Linked DNA regions of Homo sapiens: region 2 is linked to region 1. Evidence: promoter capture Hi-C in human tissues and cell types (Jung and others, 2019). All regions are on one chromosome and are shown on one strand. The core of a region is centred on a gene start or on the middle of the fragment in contact, and the rest is flanking DNA. Distances in the headings are between cores, read along the strand shown. Region 1 holds the start of TUBGCP6 (tubulin gamma complex component 6). Region 2 overlaps LOC124905149 (a long non-coding RNA gene).

Evidence for each region. The method cuts DNA at HindIII sites, captures the fragments that hold promoters and counts their contacts. A contact is called where the count stands out against the background at its distance.
Region 2: a contact is called between a fragment that was not itself captured here and the fragment with the promoter of TUBGCP6 in region 1, in 1 of the 25 tissues and cell types used here (spleen).

What each region holds. Positions count from the first base shown.
Region 1 is chr22:50,239,527-50,247,101 of GRCh38, reverse strand. It overlaps TUBGCP6 (tubulin gamma complex component 6), which reads left to right and starts at 2,079. Exons shown (of 25, transcript NM_020461.4): 1 at 2,079-3,383; 2 at 6,735-6,898. The coding sequence starts at 2,643. It overlaps HDAC10 (histone deacetylase 10), which reads left to right. Exons shown (of 20, transcript NM_032019.6): 15 at 136-227; 16 at 367-423; 17 at 726-804; 18 at 1,010-1,192; 19 at 1,275-1,427; 20 at 1,572-1,919. The coding sequence ends at 1,595. RefSeq lists a silencer at 1,707-1,776 and enhancers at 2,247-2,296, 2,707-2,986, 2,560-3,490, 5,398-5,697. The HindIII fragment of the contact is 41,268 bases long and covers 1-7,575 here.
Region 2 is chr22:50,633,620-50,641,194 of GRCh38, reverse strand. It overlaps LOC124905149 (a long non-coding RNA gene), which reads right to left. Exons shown (of 2, transcript XR_007068161.1): 1 at 6,497-7,575; 2 at 5,189-5,652. Among named protein-coding and RNA genes, the nearest start is that of ARSA, 9.3 kb to the right of the region's middle. RefSeq lists enhancers at 4,902-5,416, 5,417-5,933. The HindIII fragment of the contact is 5,037 bases long and covers 3,807-7,575 here.

The DNA.
Region 1 (7,575 bases), core at 830-3,329:
GATTGACCTTAGTGTAAGAAGATGTGTGGCTGACAGTAGCCGCAGAGACACACCGAATGAAGGGAACTGTGGATCTGTTTACCTGGCTTGGGAGTTGGTTGGTGCCTCATTCTCCACTGTTTATTCATCCCACAGGTGAACAGTGGTATAGCAGCCACTCCAGCCTCTGCTGCAGCAGCCACCCTGGATGTGGCTGTTCGGAGAGGCCTGTCCCACGGAGCCCAGAGGTAAGCCTCACTTGGCCATCCTGAGCCTCTGACGGCAGGACCTGTGGGCACCCCTATCCTGGCTGGCCAAGCACAGAGAGTTCTGGGAATGGACTCTGGACAACATGAACACCTGTCCTGAGGCCAGCTCTTCTTCCAGGCTGCTGTGCGTGGCCCTGGGACAGCTGGACCGGCCTCCAGACCTCGCCCATGACGGGTAGGACTCTCAGGTCTTGCATATGTCCAGCCATGCATGTGGACGGGCATGTGATGGACGTGTGCCTGGGCCCCAGGGTGACGGGTGGGTGGGGCACTGTGTGGTACTGAATGGAGCCTTCCTCAGCTGGGGTGTGGGAGAAGGGCTGCTGGAGGCAATGCCAGGTGGGTCTCCAGCACAGAGGCTCAGCAGTCACAGCACCCCTGCCCATGGCCCCGTGAATGCTCTTCCACCTCTGCCTCTGCGGTTTGGGCTCAGGAGGGTGAGCAGGGCCTTACACTTATGCACCTGTGTCCTGGAAGGAGGAGTCTGTGGCTGAACATCAGGGGCAAGGAGGCGGCTGCCCTATCCATGTTCCATGTCTCCACGCCACTGCCAGTGGTGAGTGACCATGCCACGCGGCAAGGCAGGTGCTGGGGAGCCCATGGATGTGTACAGCTGCTGTTTGCTGGCATTGTCATGATAGCAGGCCTCTGGTCCTTCCTGTCTCCCTGCTCCTACTCCAGGGGCCCTGAGATTGGGAGGTTGGGAGGCCAGAGCCAGCAGGTGTCCGTAGATGAGGAGCTGGGCTCTGCTGTCCCCACAGATGACCGGTGGTTTCCTGAGCTGCATCTTGGGCTTGGTGCTGCCCCTGGCCTATGGCTTCCAGCCTGACCTGGTGCTGGTGGCGCTGGGGCCTGGCCATGGCCTGCAGGGCCCCCACGCTGCACTCCTGGCTGCAATGCTTCGGGGGCTGGCAGGGGGCCGAGTCCTGGCCCTCCTGGAGGAGGTAAGCTGGGCAGGGTGGAGGTGCTGCGGGGTGGGACGAGGGAAAGGACCAGTGACTGCTTCCGTCTTCGCCCCTGGTCCAGAACTCCACACCCCAGCTAGCAGGGATCCTGGCCCGGGTGCTGAATGGAGAGGCACCTCCTAGCCTAGGCCCTTCCTCTGTGGCCTCCCCAGAGGACGTCCAGGCCCTGATGTACCTGAGAGGGCAGCTGGAGCCTCAGTGGAAGATGTTGCAGGTGAGGCTGACTGCGGAGGCATGGCCCTGCCCTGGGGCCTGGCTCTGCCGCACAGATCGGTGGGGAGGGCAGGGCAGGGGAGTGCCCTGAACCAGCTCCAGCGCCGGAGGCCAACTGCGCGCCTCTTCTCGGCTCCTCCTGTAGTGCCATCCTCACCTGGTGGCTTGAAATCGGCCAAGGTGGGAGCATTTACACCGCAGAAATGACACCGCACGCCAGCGCCCCGCGGCCGCGATCCGGACCCCAAGCCCACGGCTCCCTCGACTCTGGGGCACGGAACCCCGCCCACTCCCAATCCCCGCGCCCCGCCCTCTCCCACCCGTGCTTCCCCCGCTCCACCCCTCACCTCACCTCGCCCCCGCCCCACCCATCGCGCCCCGGCCCGTCCCATCGAGGCCCATGCAACCCACGCTCGGTCCCGTTCCGGCCCCTGCGCCCCGCTGCGCTTCGCTCCCCGCCCTTGCGCCGTTAGTAAACATCGCTCAAACGAAACGCTGGCTCTGCCTCCTTTACTGAGCACGCTCGGCCTCGGTCTCTCACCCGCGGTGCCGGACTCAGGCCGGAAGTATGCCGCGGCCCAGGCCTCACCAACTTCACGCGCTGCCGGCGTTCCCGTGACGTATTTCCGGCGCGCCCGCCCTAGTGCTCTTCACACTGGCGCGGCTGTGACGCGACGGAGGCGGCGAGAGCGGCAGCCGTGGGCACTTTCCACGGGTGAGGCCTGGAGAACGGGTGGACGTGCAGGCCAGAACCCGGGACCCACCCGGCTGAGCCCCCAGACTCTCCGCTGCCCACGACCCTCGGAGTGGCACCCTCTCCTGGCCGTCTCCTCTCGTGGGTCCCGAAGAACGGGTGCAAAGCCGAGTTCGTCCGCTGTACTGCGCGGGCGCGCGTTTCGTTCTTCGGTTTTGCCACGGTTCTGTGACTCCCTAAAGGTTGAGGGCTACTGAATTAGAAGAAACGCCGAGCTGGCTTCTGGTGGGCTGCCGGGCGCCGGGCAGCGTGCTTGGACTGGGGAGGGCAGGGCGTGTTTACTCTGAGTAGAGCAACCGCAAGACCTCCTTTAAAAAATACCAGTTCTGAGCTTCGGCATTGGAGAGGCCGCCTGTCATTCAGCCTCTTCGGACCCTCTCTCACTCCCTGTCTTCCGGAGCGTGAGTGAAGCCCGGGTGAGGTGTTTTCCCACACGCCGGGGGCCCGGAGCTGAGAAGGGGCATGGCCAGCATCACGCAGCTGTTCGACGACCTGTGTGAGGCCCTCCTGCCGGCTGCCAAGACTCACCTGGGCCAGCGCAGTGTGAACCGGAAGAGGGCAAAGCGGAGCCTCAAGAAGGTGGCCTACAATGCTCTTTTCACAAATCTTTTTCAAGATGAGACTCAACAGCTGCAGCCTGACATGTCAAAACTACCAGCGAGAAACAAGATCCTCATGTTGTCCTTTGACTTGAGAGTGGGTGGCCTGGGCCCCAAGGCCGACCGTTTGGAGGAGCTTGTGGAGGAGCTGGAAGCAGCCCCTTGCTGTCCGCTTTTGGAGGTGGGGTCTGTTTTGGACCTCCTGGTTCAGCTGGCAGGGAGTGGTCCCCCTCAAGTTCTGCCGAGAAAACGAGACTACTTCCTTAACAACAAGCATGTGGGGAGAAACGTTCCGTACAGCGGCTATGATTGCGACGACCTGAGTGTGTTTGAGATGGACGTTCAGTCTCTGATCTCCAGAGAAGAGTGTTTGTGTCACAGCATGATCCAGGAAACACTTCAGGTTATGGAGGCTGCTCCAGGCACTGGCCTGCCCACCGTCGGGCTCTTCTCATTTGGTGACCCTTGTGGTGACAGGTTCGAGAGAGACACCCGGGTCTCGCTCTTCGGGGCCCTTGTGCACAGCCGCACTTATGACATGGACGTCCGACTGGGCCTGCCCCCCGTGCCAGACAATGCGGACCTCTCTGGGCTGGCTATTAAGGTAGAATGTTTAGTTTTTCCTCTTTCATCTCTCTCGGGGTTTGGAAAATGCTTCCTGTGACCTTTCTTCTTCTTCTTCTTCTTCTTTTTTTTTTTTTTTTTGAGACAGTGTCTCACTCTGTCACCCAGGCTGGAGTGCAGTGGCGCGATCTTGGCTCACCTTAACCTCCACTTTCTGGGCTCAAGCAATTCTCGTACCTCAGCCTCCCGAGTAGCTGAAATTACAGGCACCTGCCACCACGCCCGGCTTAATTTTTTTTTTTTTTTGAGATGGAGTCTTGCTCTGTTGCCCAGGCTGGAGTGCCGTGGCGCGATCTCGGCTCACTGTAACCGCCGCCTCCCGGGGTCAAGTGATTCTCCTACCTCAGCCTCCCGAGTAGCTGTAGCTGGGATTTAGGTGCATGCCACCACGCCCAGCTAAGTTTTGTATTTTTAGTAGAGATGGGGTTTCACCATGCTGGCTAGGCTGGTCTTGAACTCCTGACCTCTTGATCCGCCTGCCTCGGCCTCCCAAAGTGCTGGGATTACAGGCGTGAGCCACCATGCCCAACTAATTTTTGTATTTTTAGTAGAGGCGGGGTTTCACCATGTTGGCCAGGCTGGTCTCCAACTCCTGACCTCAAATGATCCACCCGTCTCGGCCTCCCAAAGTGCTGGGATTACAGGCATGAGCCACTGTGCCCGGCCCGGTGACCTTCCTTTTATCATGGTAAAAGGGGGGATAGTCTGGTGGCTGCATTGTCCTGAGGTGGGGCTGCTGGAGTGGGCTTACTGGCGGCCACCCTCCTCTGCAGCGACAGTGCTGCCCACCTGCCGGCCAAAGCAACATGCTGCTTTTCATCTTTACCTAATGGGGTATATCGTTAAGCCACCTCTGCCTTCTAGAGCTGCCGTTTAAATTGAAGTTAATTAAAACAAAATAAAATACTCAGTTCCTCAGCCCCACAAGCCACATTTCAAGTGCTCAGTAGCCACGTGTGGCAAAAGTGTTCATGTTCTGTAATTCGTGCAATTGGATATGTTTTTGCTGTCTGTCGCCTGAGGCTTTACCATGGTACGCTGTAGCTCCTCATTTGAGTTTTGTATTTTATTGCTTTATCAGTGTTGCCAAAAGGATACATTGTTACTAGTCGTTCTATTCTTATGCGATAGCTAGATGATTTAGAAACATACATAATGCTACAGCAAATGTCTTGGTGTACAGCAGTTTTGTTTTTTGTTTTTGAGACAAGTCTTGCTCTGTCGCCCAGGCTGGAGTGCAGTGGTGTGGTCTCGGCTCACTGCAACCTCCATCTCCTGGGTTCAAGCGATTCTCCTGCCTCAGCCTCCTAAGTATCTGGGACTACAGGTGTGCGTCACCACACACAGCTAATTTTTGTATTTTATATGTTTGTATTTTTATTTTTTTATTTTATTTGATTTTTTTTTTTGACACAGTCTCGCTCTGTCGCCCAGGCTCGAGTGCGGTGGCACAATCTTGGCTCACTGCAAGCTCTGCCTCCCAGGTTCACGCCATTCTCCCGCCTCAGCCTCCTGAGTAGCTGGGACTACAGGTGCCTGCCACCACGCCCTGCGAATTTTTTGTATATTTAGTAGAGACGGGGTTTCACCGTGTTAGCCAGGATGGTCTCTATCTCCTCACCTCGTGATCTGCCCGCCTCGGCCTCCCAAAGTGCTGGGATTACAGGCGTGAGCCCGGCCTGATTGTTCTTTTTTTTTTTTTTTTTTTTTTTTTTGAGATGGAGTCTTGTGTAGGGACCAGCCCTACAGGGTCTGTGGGTTTTTCTCTCCATATGCGGAGACCAGAGATGGTAGAAATAAAGACACAAGACAGAGATAGAAGAAAAAACAGCTGGGCCCGGGGGATCACTACCACCAACACGTGGAGACCAGTAGTGGCCCCAAATGCCAGGCTGCGCTGTTATTTATTGGATACAAGGCAAAAGGGGCAGGGTAAGGAGTGTGAGTCATCTCCAATGATAGGTAAGGTCACGTGGGTCACGTGTCAACTGGACAGGGGGCCCTTCCCTGTTTGGCAGCCGAAGCAGAGAGAGAGGAGACAGCTTACACCATTATTTCTGCATTTCAGAGACTTTTAGTACTTTCACTAATTTGCTACTGCTATCTAGAAGGCAGAGCCAGGTGTACAGGATGGAACATGAAAGTGGACTAGGAGTGTGACTGCTGAAGCACAGCATCACAGGGAGACGTTTAGGCCTCTGGATAACTGCGGGTGGGCCTGAGTCATGTCAGGCCCTCCACAAGAGGTGGTGGAGCAGAGTCTTCTCTAACTCCCCCAGGGAAAGGGAGACTCCCTTTCCTGGTCTGCTAAGTAGTGGGTGCTTTTCCTAGGCACTGACGCTACCGCTAGACCAAGGTCCGCTAGGTAATGGGCGTCTTCCCAGGTGCTGCCATTACCACTAGACTAAGGAGCCCTCTAGTGGCCCTGTCTGGGCATGACAGAAGGCTCACACTCTTGTCTTCTGGTCACTTCTCACCTTGCCCCTTCAGCTCCTGTCTCTGTATGGCCTGGTTTCTCGTAAGTTACAATTGTAGAGCGAAGATTATTATAATCTTGGAATAAAGAGCAATTGCTACAAACTAATGATTAATAACGTTCATATATAATCATATTTATGATCTATAGTGTAACTATTCTTGTTCTATATATTTTATTGTACTAGAACAGCTCGTGCCCTCGGTCTCTTGCCTCGGCACCTGGGTGGCTTGCTGCCCACAGTCTTGCTCTGTCGCCCAGACTGGAGTGTGGTGGCGCAATCTCGGCTCACTGCAACCTCCGCTTCCCGGGTTCAAGCAATTCTTCTGCCTCAGCCTCCCGAGTAGCTGGGACCACAGGTGCCCACCACCACGCCTGGCCGATTTTTATATTTTTAGTAGAGACGGGGTTTCACATGCTGGCCAGGCTGGTCTCAAACTCCTGACCTCAGGTGATCCACCTGCCTCAGCCTCCCATAGTGCTGGGATTACAGGCGTGAGCCACTGCGCCTGGCCCCGGTGTACAGTAGTGTTTTAATGTTGAGTGTGATTTTTTTAATTCTGGGTTCCCCACATTGGAATTTCCAGGTCTGAGGCATCTCAAAAAGTTTCACTCTAAGTTCCACTGAGGCTTATGTGTTACATGGAATTGGAAATTGGCAGCCTTGACGACTTATTTTGTTTAATTCCTTAAATGGCTCATTGGTGGGAAACATTGTATGGTACACATGCGCTTGAGAAAAACAGAAGAAACATTTTGTTAGGTCTTTGCATAAAGTTCCTGAAATTCTCATCGCCCTTGGATGAAACGTGGACACAGCAATAAGTGGCGGTTTGCCCTTCCCTGTGTCTCCAGGTCCCACCGAGTGTGGATCAGTGGGAAGACGAAGGATTCCAGTCAGCGTCCAACTTGACTCCTGATTCCCAGTCTGAGCCCAGCGTGACCCCAGACGTGGACCTGTGGGAAGCCGCACTTACCTATGAGGCCAGCAAGCGGAGGTGCTGGGAGCGAGTTGGCTGGTGTGTGCCCTTCTTTGCCTTGGCATGCAGTGCCCCTACCCCTGCATGAGCGTGGCCTTGGATGGGGTGTGTGGGGGGCGTTGTGTACTCAGGGGTCCAGGCAGTTGTGATGGGTTAGTAACCTAAGCTAGTGTCCAAAATTGACTGAGTCCTGGGAGTTAAGAGAGATGCAGAGGGGAAAGCACTAACAGCCTTTAAGGAGGCCTCACCTCCCCATCCAGTAACCAGATCACACCTGTCGGGCAGAACTCCCCTCCCTGTGCCAGTAACCAGATCACACCTGTCGGGCAGAGCTCCCCTCCCCGTGCCAGTAACCAGATCACACCTGCCAGGCAGAGCAGTTGGGGCAGCTAAGTTATGTCCTTAAGAGCAAGAGAGCTGCCTGGCAGGCTGTGTGATTAGTGCCAGGAAGAAATGCTCACTGGGCATGGGGTGCTGATGAAGGAGCCTTTTCCATTCATGTCTAGAGGAATTGGGGTGCTGATGAACACGGAACCTTTTCCGTCCGTGTCTGGAGGAGTTGGGAGGGGCAGTCTGGGTGATGAGAAGCTCCAGCTGCAGCAGCTTTTTCCTGACTGGTACCAGCAGCTTGCTCTCTGGATGCGGTAGCCACTCACTCCCTGGCTCACCTGGGTCCAGAGGCCTCTGCACTCAGCACCTCTCAGAGTCTTTAATGT
Region 2 (7,575 bases), core at 5,076-7,575, 390 kb before region 1:
CGGAACTAGGCGGGGTGTACGGCCAAGAGGGATGAGTGTGGGGCCTCAGTAATCCCACACTTCTGCAAAAATGGCTGGGGACAATTGTTTCAGGACGCTTTGTTCCAGACCAGCTGCCTCACCATTATCTTCATGTTCTTGGAATTTGTGACACAACGAACAATGTAGGCCGGGTATGATGGCTCACACCGGTAAATCCCAGCTACTCAGGAGGCTGAGGCACAGGAAATCACTTGAGCCCGGGAGGCGGAGGGCACAGTGAGCACTCCAGGCTGGGCAACACAGCGAGACTCTGTCTCAAAAAGAAAGAACAATGTATAGCCAATGTTATCTGTTTTTGTTTTTTCTGTTTTGTTTTTGAGACGGAGTCTCACTCTGGCACCCAGGCTGGAGTGCAATGGCGCAATCTCGGCTCACTGCAACCTCCACTTCCCAGGTTCAAGCAATTCTCCTGCCTCAACCTCCCAAGTAGCTGAGATTACAGGTACACGCCACCACACCTGGCTAATTTTTGTATTTTTAGTAGAGACAGGGTTTCGCCATGTTGGCCCAGCTGGTCTCGAACTCCTGACCTCAAGTGATCCACCCGCCTTGGCCTCCCAAAGTGCTGGGATTACAAGCGTGAGCCACCGCGCCCAGCCACCTCTTTTCCTTCGAAAAACTACTGTAACTGTTGCCAATCAGAGTGTATATTCAGGGCAAATAGAATCTCTGCTCCCAGGTTGCAATCCTCAAGCTTGGCCCAAATAAACCCTCCGCTCATGTTAATGTTGCTTCAGCTTCTTTCTTTTAGGTCAACGTTCAGTACGCGTCTGTCATTTCCATTTGACTGTTAAACAAACTGGAGACTATAGAGGCCAAGGGAAAACTTGCCCTCTGCCCTCAGGAGATTCACGGAAAATCAACTGACAAAGTAAGAGAAAAGGCATACAGATTTATTCATGCACACAGGGAGAACCAGAGTGATGACCCCAACCTCCCAATGGGGTTCGGAAGCTTATATACCATCTTGAGGTTACAGAAAGAACATGGGCTCAAAGTATGGCCACAGTTTATGGTGGAAAATCAGGTGACCAGTGGCAAGACCGGTTACAGGAGGGAGAGCAGAGGAGGCCTGGCTAGCAAAGGTGGCCTTGTTCTACAGATGAAACCTCACAGGTAGCAGCCCTGAGAGAGAACAGATGGTGAATGTTCCCTTCAGGCCTTTAAAGGCGTCAGACTGTTACTCTTCCCAGATCAGGCAAGGAGGGCCTCAGAGGAGGCCTGGCCGCATCAGTGTAGATTCTCTCCACAGATGCAAATCTCCCCCACAAAAGACAGCTTTTCAGCTATTCTTCTATTTCCAGTCCTTCTGAGTAACTGTCTTGAACCGTGTCAAGGAAATATTTTTGTTGTTGTTGTTTGTTTGTTTTGAGGCAGAGTCTCACTCCGTCACCCAGGCTGGAGTGCAGTGGTGCAATCTCAGCTCACTGCAACCTCCACCTACTGGGTTCAAGTGATTCTCCTGCTTCAGCCTCCCTGGGATTACAGGCATGCACCACCATGCCTGGCTAATTTTTGTATTTTTAGTAGAGACGGGGTCTCGCCATGTTGGCCAGCCTGGTCTCAAACTCCTGACCTCAGGTGATCTGCCCACCTCGGCCTCACGAAGTGCTGGGATTACAGGCGTGAGTCACCATGCCCAGCCATGGAAATACATTTTGGGGCGAAATATTTTGGTTTCCTTCAGTCCCCACTTTGAGACTTTCAGAAAGTTGCCCATATAAAAAGAAAGTTGATAGCTTTGAAGAGATTTGAGTTAGAGGTTGTTAGATAAGAGACAGGCAGAGGCGGGCAAAAAGAAATTGGGATAAGCAGAAAAAGACAAATTTAAATGTCATCCTGGCAGGGCACAGTGGCTCATGGCTGTAAATCTCAGCACTTTGGGAAGCTGAGGCAGGAGGAGCACTTGAGCCCAGGTGTTCAGACCAGCCCGGGCATCACAGGGAGACTCTATTGCTACAAAAAATAAAAAATTAGCCAGGCATGGTAGTTTGTGTCTGTGGTCCCAGCTACCTGGGAGGCTGATGCAGCAGGATGACCTGAGCCTGGGAAGTCAAGTCTGCAGAGAGCTGTGATCACACCACTTTGTGGGTGAGTGAGTGAGACCCTGTCTCTGAAAAATAGATATGTATCATGCCATATTTTCTTGAATCCGTCTCTTAGTCCTGAGACTAGATCAGCTCAGTTAAACAGCTGTATCCTATTCCAAGAAGTGGCATTGCAGATGGGCTGGGACCTCGTATATAATTCACACAAACAGATCTTTAACAAGATACAATTCTATGGAAACAGAAGAAAAAAAACGGTGAATGTCTGGTGTCATCCATAGACTAGCTTTTCTAGCTCTCCTCAATCTGAGGCATCTGGAGCATCTTCAGATTGCAATGGCAATTTGACAGATTTTTCTGGATTGTAGTTCTAATTGGGTGTTCAAGTGAACTTTCTGAATAGTCCATATATCAACAGGCACAAAGGCTATTTATACATAAGTCGCTGTGATGATTTCTCCTGAAGATTATAAGTAATTTAGCTTCAGTTGCAGGGCTTCAAGAAAAGCCATTTTAATTTCCAGTGATTTTAAATCAGAAAAATGGGAGAAAAACTGGAAAGCATTAGTTTAGAGACTTGGAGCTAGGAAAGAATGCAGGATTCAGTTCAAACTATAGGCAAATGATAACAACTCAAAAACAAGTCAGTCCGGACTCTCGTAACAGGTGTCAACAGTCAGTCCGGACTCTAATAACAGGTGTCAACAGTCAGTCCGGACTCTAATAACAGGTGTCAACAGTCAGTCCGGACTCTAATAACAGGTGTCAACAGTCAGTCCGGACTCTCCTCACGGCAGGTGTCAACAGTCAGTCCGGACTCTAATGACAGGTGTCAACAGTCAGTCCGGACTCTTGTGACAGGTGTCAACAGTCAGTCCGGACTCTCGTGACAGGTGTCAACAGTCAGTCCGGACTCTAATAACAGGTGTCAACAGTCAGTCTGGACTCTAATAACAGGTATACTATAGTTTTCTTCTAAAACATATTTTTTCTCTCTCCAGTCTCCCTTTTCCACAAAAGACAAATCAGAGTAAGAACAACTGATTTACAAAATAAGTTTTAGTCTTATTATAATTGGCCTGATTATTTGCATAAAGTACAGTAATAATAGTGACTGGCCATTCAACCTCTTTTAAAGTTGGCTTTGCCAGAACTTTTTCATAAGGAATCTCAGATTAGACTTTTAAAAGCATCTTGAGGCCGGGCATGGTGGCTCACGCCTGTAATCCCAGCACTTTGGGAGGCCGAGGCGGGCGGATCGTGGGCTCAGGAGATCAAGACTATCCTGGCTAACACAGTGAAACCCCATCTCTACTAAAAATACAAAGAAAATCAGCCACGTGTGGTGGCGGGCGCCTGTAGTACCAGCTACTCAGGAGGCTAAGGCAGGAGAATGGCATGAACCCGGGAGACGGAGCTTGCAGTGAGCCAAGACCGCGCCACTACACTCCAGCCTGGGCGACAGAGCGAGATCGGTCTCAAAAAAAAAAAACCAAAAACCAAAAAAAAAAAAAAAAAAAAAAAGTACTTGTCTGGGTACTTTACATGAGTTTCCTTGAGGAAGAAGCAAGTCTTGAACTGTAGCTAATTATAAGCTGCTTTTTAAAAAGAATCAAAGTAAAACAGTAATTGACTGTGGATGACAGATGACTTAGACTAATGATGGTTACAGATGCAATTCACAAGGAGATTTGTTTTTTTGTGTGACATACAACAATTTAACATAATAATTATAATTTTGAGCCAGGCGTGGTGGCTCATACCTGTAATCCCTGCACTTTGGGAGACCAAGGCAGGAGGGCTGCTTGAGCTCAGGAGTTCGAGATGAGCCTGGGTGGCACAGCAAGATCCTGTCTCCAAAATAATAAATAAATAAATAAAGACAGCATGAGGCAAACTCTCTACTCCTCCTTTTTTTTTGTGAGACAGAGTCTCACTCTTGTTGCCCAGGCTGGAGTGCAGTGGCACAATCTCAGCTCACTGCAACCTCCGCCTCCCGGGTTCAAGCGATTCTCCTGCCTCGGCCTCCTGAGTAGCTGGGACTACAGGCAGGCGCCACCACGCCTGGCTAATTTTTGTATTTTTAGTAGAGATGGGGTTTCACCATCTTGGCCAGGCTAGTCTCAAACGCCTGACCTCAGGTGATCCACCCACCTCGGCCTCCCAAAGTGCTGGGATTACAGGTGTGAACCACCGTACCGGGCCTACTCCTCCTTTTCTTGTAGTTTACTCAAAAGGTAAACAAAAATCTTTTACTGTCTCTTATTAATACTACATGAAAATCTTACTCAAAAATGAAAACTAAATTCTACCTTTACATTAGCATATTATTAATACTAAAGCTAATTTTAATAAAAACTTAAAAACAGATCCATTCAATCTCAATCAGCTTTGACCACATAAGATTTCCATAAACCTTTAATAACCTCTTAAAATTTGTTCCATTCTTTGTTTCTCAAACTTTCTATATATATTCAGTTTTATCTATCATTTTTTTATTCCTTTAATTTAAAACAACCTTTAAAAACATCAAAACTAGACAAAATTACTTTTCCTTTAACAAAAACCTCATTCTCATGCCTTCTTTATAACCTTCCTTACCAAAAACACATCCTACTTTCTTATAAACTTTGCATACAGAAGTGTTTCTCTTATATCTAGTAGTTTTAAATACATATATTAATTACAATGTTAACTCTTAGGAAGCCTAATTTTCAGTGAAAAACATGGGAAGTAAGCAATTTTAATTGTTATTAAAGATGCAAAGCCCAGGACAAAGGACAGAGCTTTAAAGACTGATATGGTTTGGCTGTGTCCCCACCCAAATCTCATCTTGAACTGTAGTTCCCAAAATCCACAGGTGTTGTGGGAGGGACCCAGTGGGAGGTGATTAGATGAAGGGGGCGGTTCCCCCACGCTGTTTTTGTGCTAGTGAGTTCTCACGAGGTCTCATGGTTTCATGAGGTGCTTCCCCACTCTTCGCTCTGCACACCTCCTTCCTGACCTCATGTGAAGAACGTGTTTGCTTCCTCTTCCGCCATGATTGTAAGTTTCCTGAGGCTTCCCAGCCACGCTGAACTGTGAGTCAATTAAACCTCTTTCCTTTACAAATCACCCAGTCTCAGGTATGTCTTTATTAGCAGTGTGAGAATGGGCTACTACAAAGACAATGCCTGGAGGACTCAACCCCTCCCAGCATGACCGGGGGGCACAGCTGGGCCAGGGAGGACAATGCTCGGGCACTGCAGACACACAGCATGACCGGGGGGCACAGCTGGGCAAGAGAGGACAATGCTCGGGCACTGCAGACACACAGCATGGCTGGGGCGCACAGCTGGGCTAGGGAGGACGGGGCTCAGGCACTGCAGACACACAGTATGGCCGGGGGGCACAGCTGGGCTAGGGAGGACGGGGCTCGGGCACTGCAGACAAACAGCATGACCGGGGGGTACAGCTGGGCCAGGGAGGATGGGGCTTAGGTACTGCGGACACACAGATGTCTCCAGGCCACATCATGTCCACTTGTCTTGACCCCAGAATGTAGAGGCTCAAAGCCAAAGACCTAAGTTCACAGACAAATTAAGCAAGTATCAGAAATATGACAGAAGCAAATTTTATGACCTTAAAGCATCTAACAGAGACTGTCTGAACCTGTCCGACCAATGGGCCCAAGCAAAGATGTCTCAATTATATTTAAGACTGACGACTTTGAAGATATTCTAATTTTAGCATCATTTTTTTTTTTGAGATGGAGTCTCACTCTGTCACCCAGGCTAGAGTGCAGTAGTGCAGTCTCGGCTCACTGCAACCTCTACCTCCCAGGTTCAAGTGATTCTCCTGCCTCAGCCTCCTGAGTAGCTAGGACTACAGGCGCATGCCACCACGCCTGGCTAATTTTTGTATTTTTAGTAGAGACGGGGTTTCACCATGTTGGCCAGGATGGTCTCGATCTCTTGACCTCGTGATTTGCCCGCCTCAGCCTCCCAAAGTGCTGGGATTACAGGTGTGAGCCACTGCACCCAGCAGCAACAATTTTAAAACTAAGTTTATTTGCCAAAGATTACTAGTCACATGAACTAGAAAAGCATCTGGGTTTAGTTACATCATTCATGAGCACTTATTTATTTATACGTCAATTTGCTACTATGTACATAATATACAAACAGGCATGTACACATAAAAATACAGACACAAATCAAGATTTTATAGCTTTAGTTTTAAGATTTTAGCCACGAATCGGGTAAAAATCACTAGTTTAAAAGGATACTTAAAATTGTGCCTCTGTAAATGGAACAAGGTAAAATTTATCTGTCTCACACGGCCAAAGCCCTTACCAAGTTTTAGAGAAAACAAGGCAACAAATTTACATCTTGAAGCACAGAGAAAAAAAAATTATTTTTATTTACTGAATTTTTTCAAGACGGAGTCTTGCTCTGTCGCCCAGGTTGGAGTGCAACGGCACGATCTTGACTCACTGCAACCTCTGCCTCCTTGGTTCAAGCAATTCCACAGGGAGAAAGTTTAAGCTTTGATTTAGTATGTTAAAGGAAGATTTTAAATGGATGCTGAGGTAACAAAAAGTCATAGAAATTCACCACAGGATTTTATAAGGACAACAATGTTATTTAAATATGTGGCTATTAATTTATTCTCCATTTTTGAACTAGACCACTGGGCTCAGGACAGAGCTCATTAATGAACATGGCCAAAAAAGCATTTGCAGTTTGGAGGACCTAATATTTAAATATGTGAAAAACAGGTGCAGCTGGAAGGCAGAGCATCTAGATCTTTTAAAATCAAGGATCCCACATTTACACTGAATGCTGAGTTCCCTCTAAAAAGAGATATATATGAGACAAAGCCATACAGTGTTTCCACAGTGTACCTCACTATGAAGACATTCCCCTGAGGCTGGTGGGAGACCCACAGCAATCAGCCCACGGAGTCTCAGCCTTTGACGCCAAGTGCTTCCATAGTCTCCAAGTGTTCAGATTGTGCCTTTCTCATCTAAACATGCAGAGAAACAAGCAGCCACTGCAGGAACAACCATTCACTACAACTGCTTTCAGCCACCTCCAAAACTGTGAGGCAGCCCTCGCCAGTGACCTGCCGGCCATCACACACACTCAGGTCATGCACTGTCTCACAGTGCAACGTAATCCCTGGTACCCCCAAAGCCAAAGAGATCCAGTGACACAGTGCCAAAGACAGCCAAGCTTTAGACCCGAGAGGAAGCTACCCACGACTCCTCAGGCCCCATAAGGAAGACAAAAGCGGGGCGCGTGGCACCTTTCTTTGCGTTCCCCAAGGGGTCTCTAAGTCATCAGAAGTCCCTTGTAGATCCCTTCATTAGGTACCAAAGATGGCAAAGGGGATGGAGGAGCACGGAGGGGTAGAAGTAAATGGGACTGCAATCCTTAGAGGAGCCAATTTGGAAAAATGTTAAGGTTCTAAAAGGCCAATACAATTTTACATTTTTCTCATC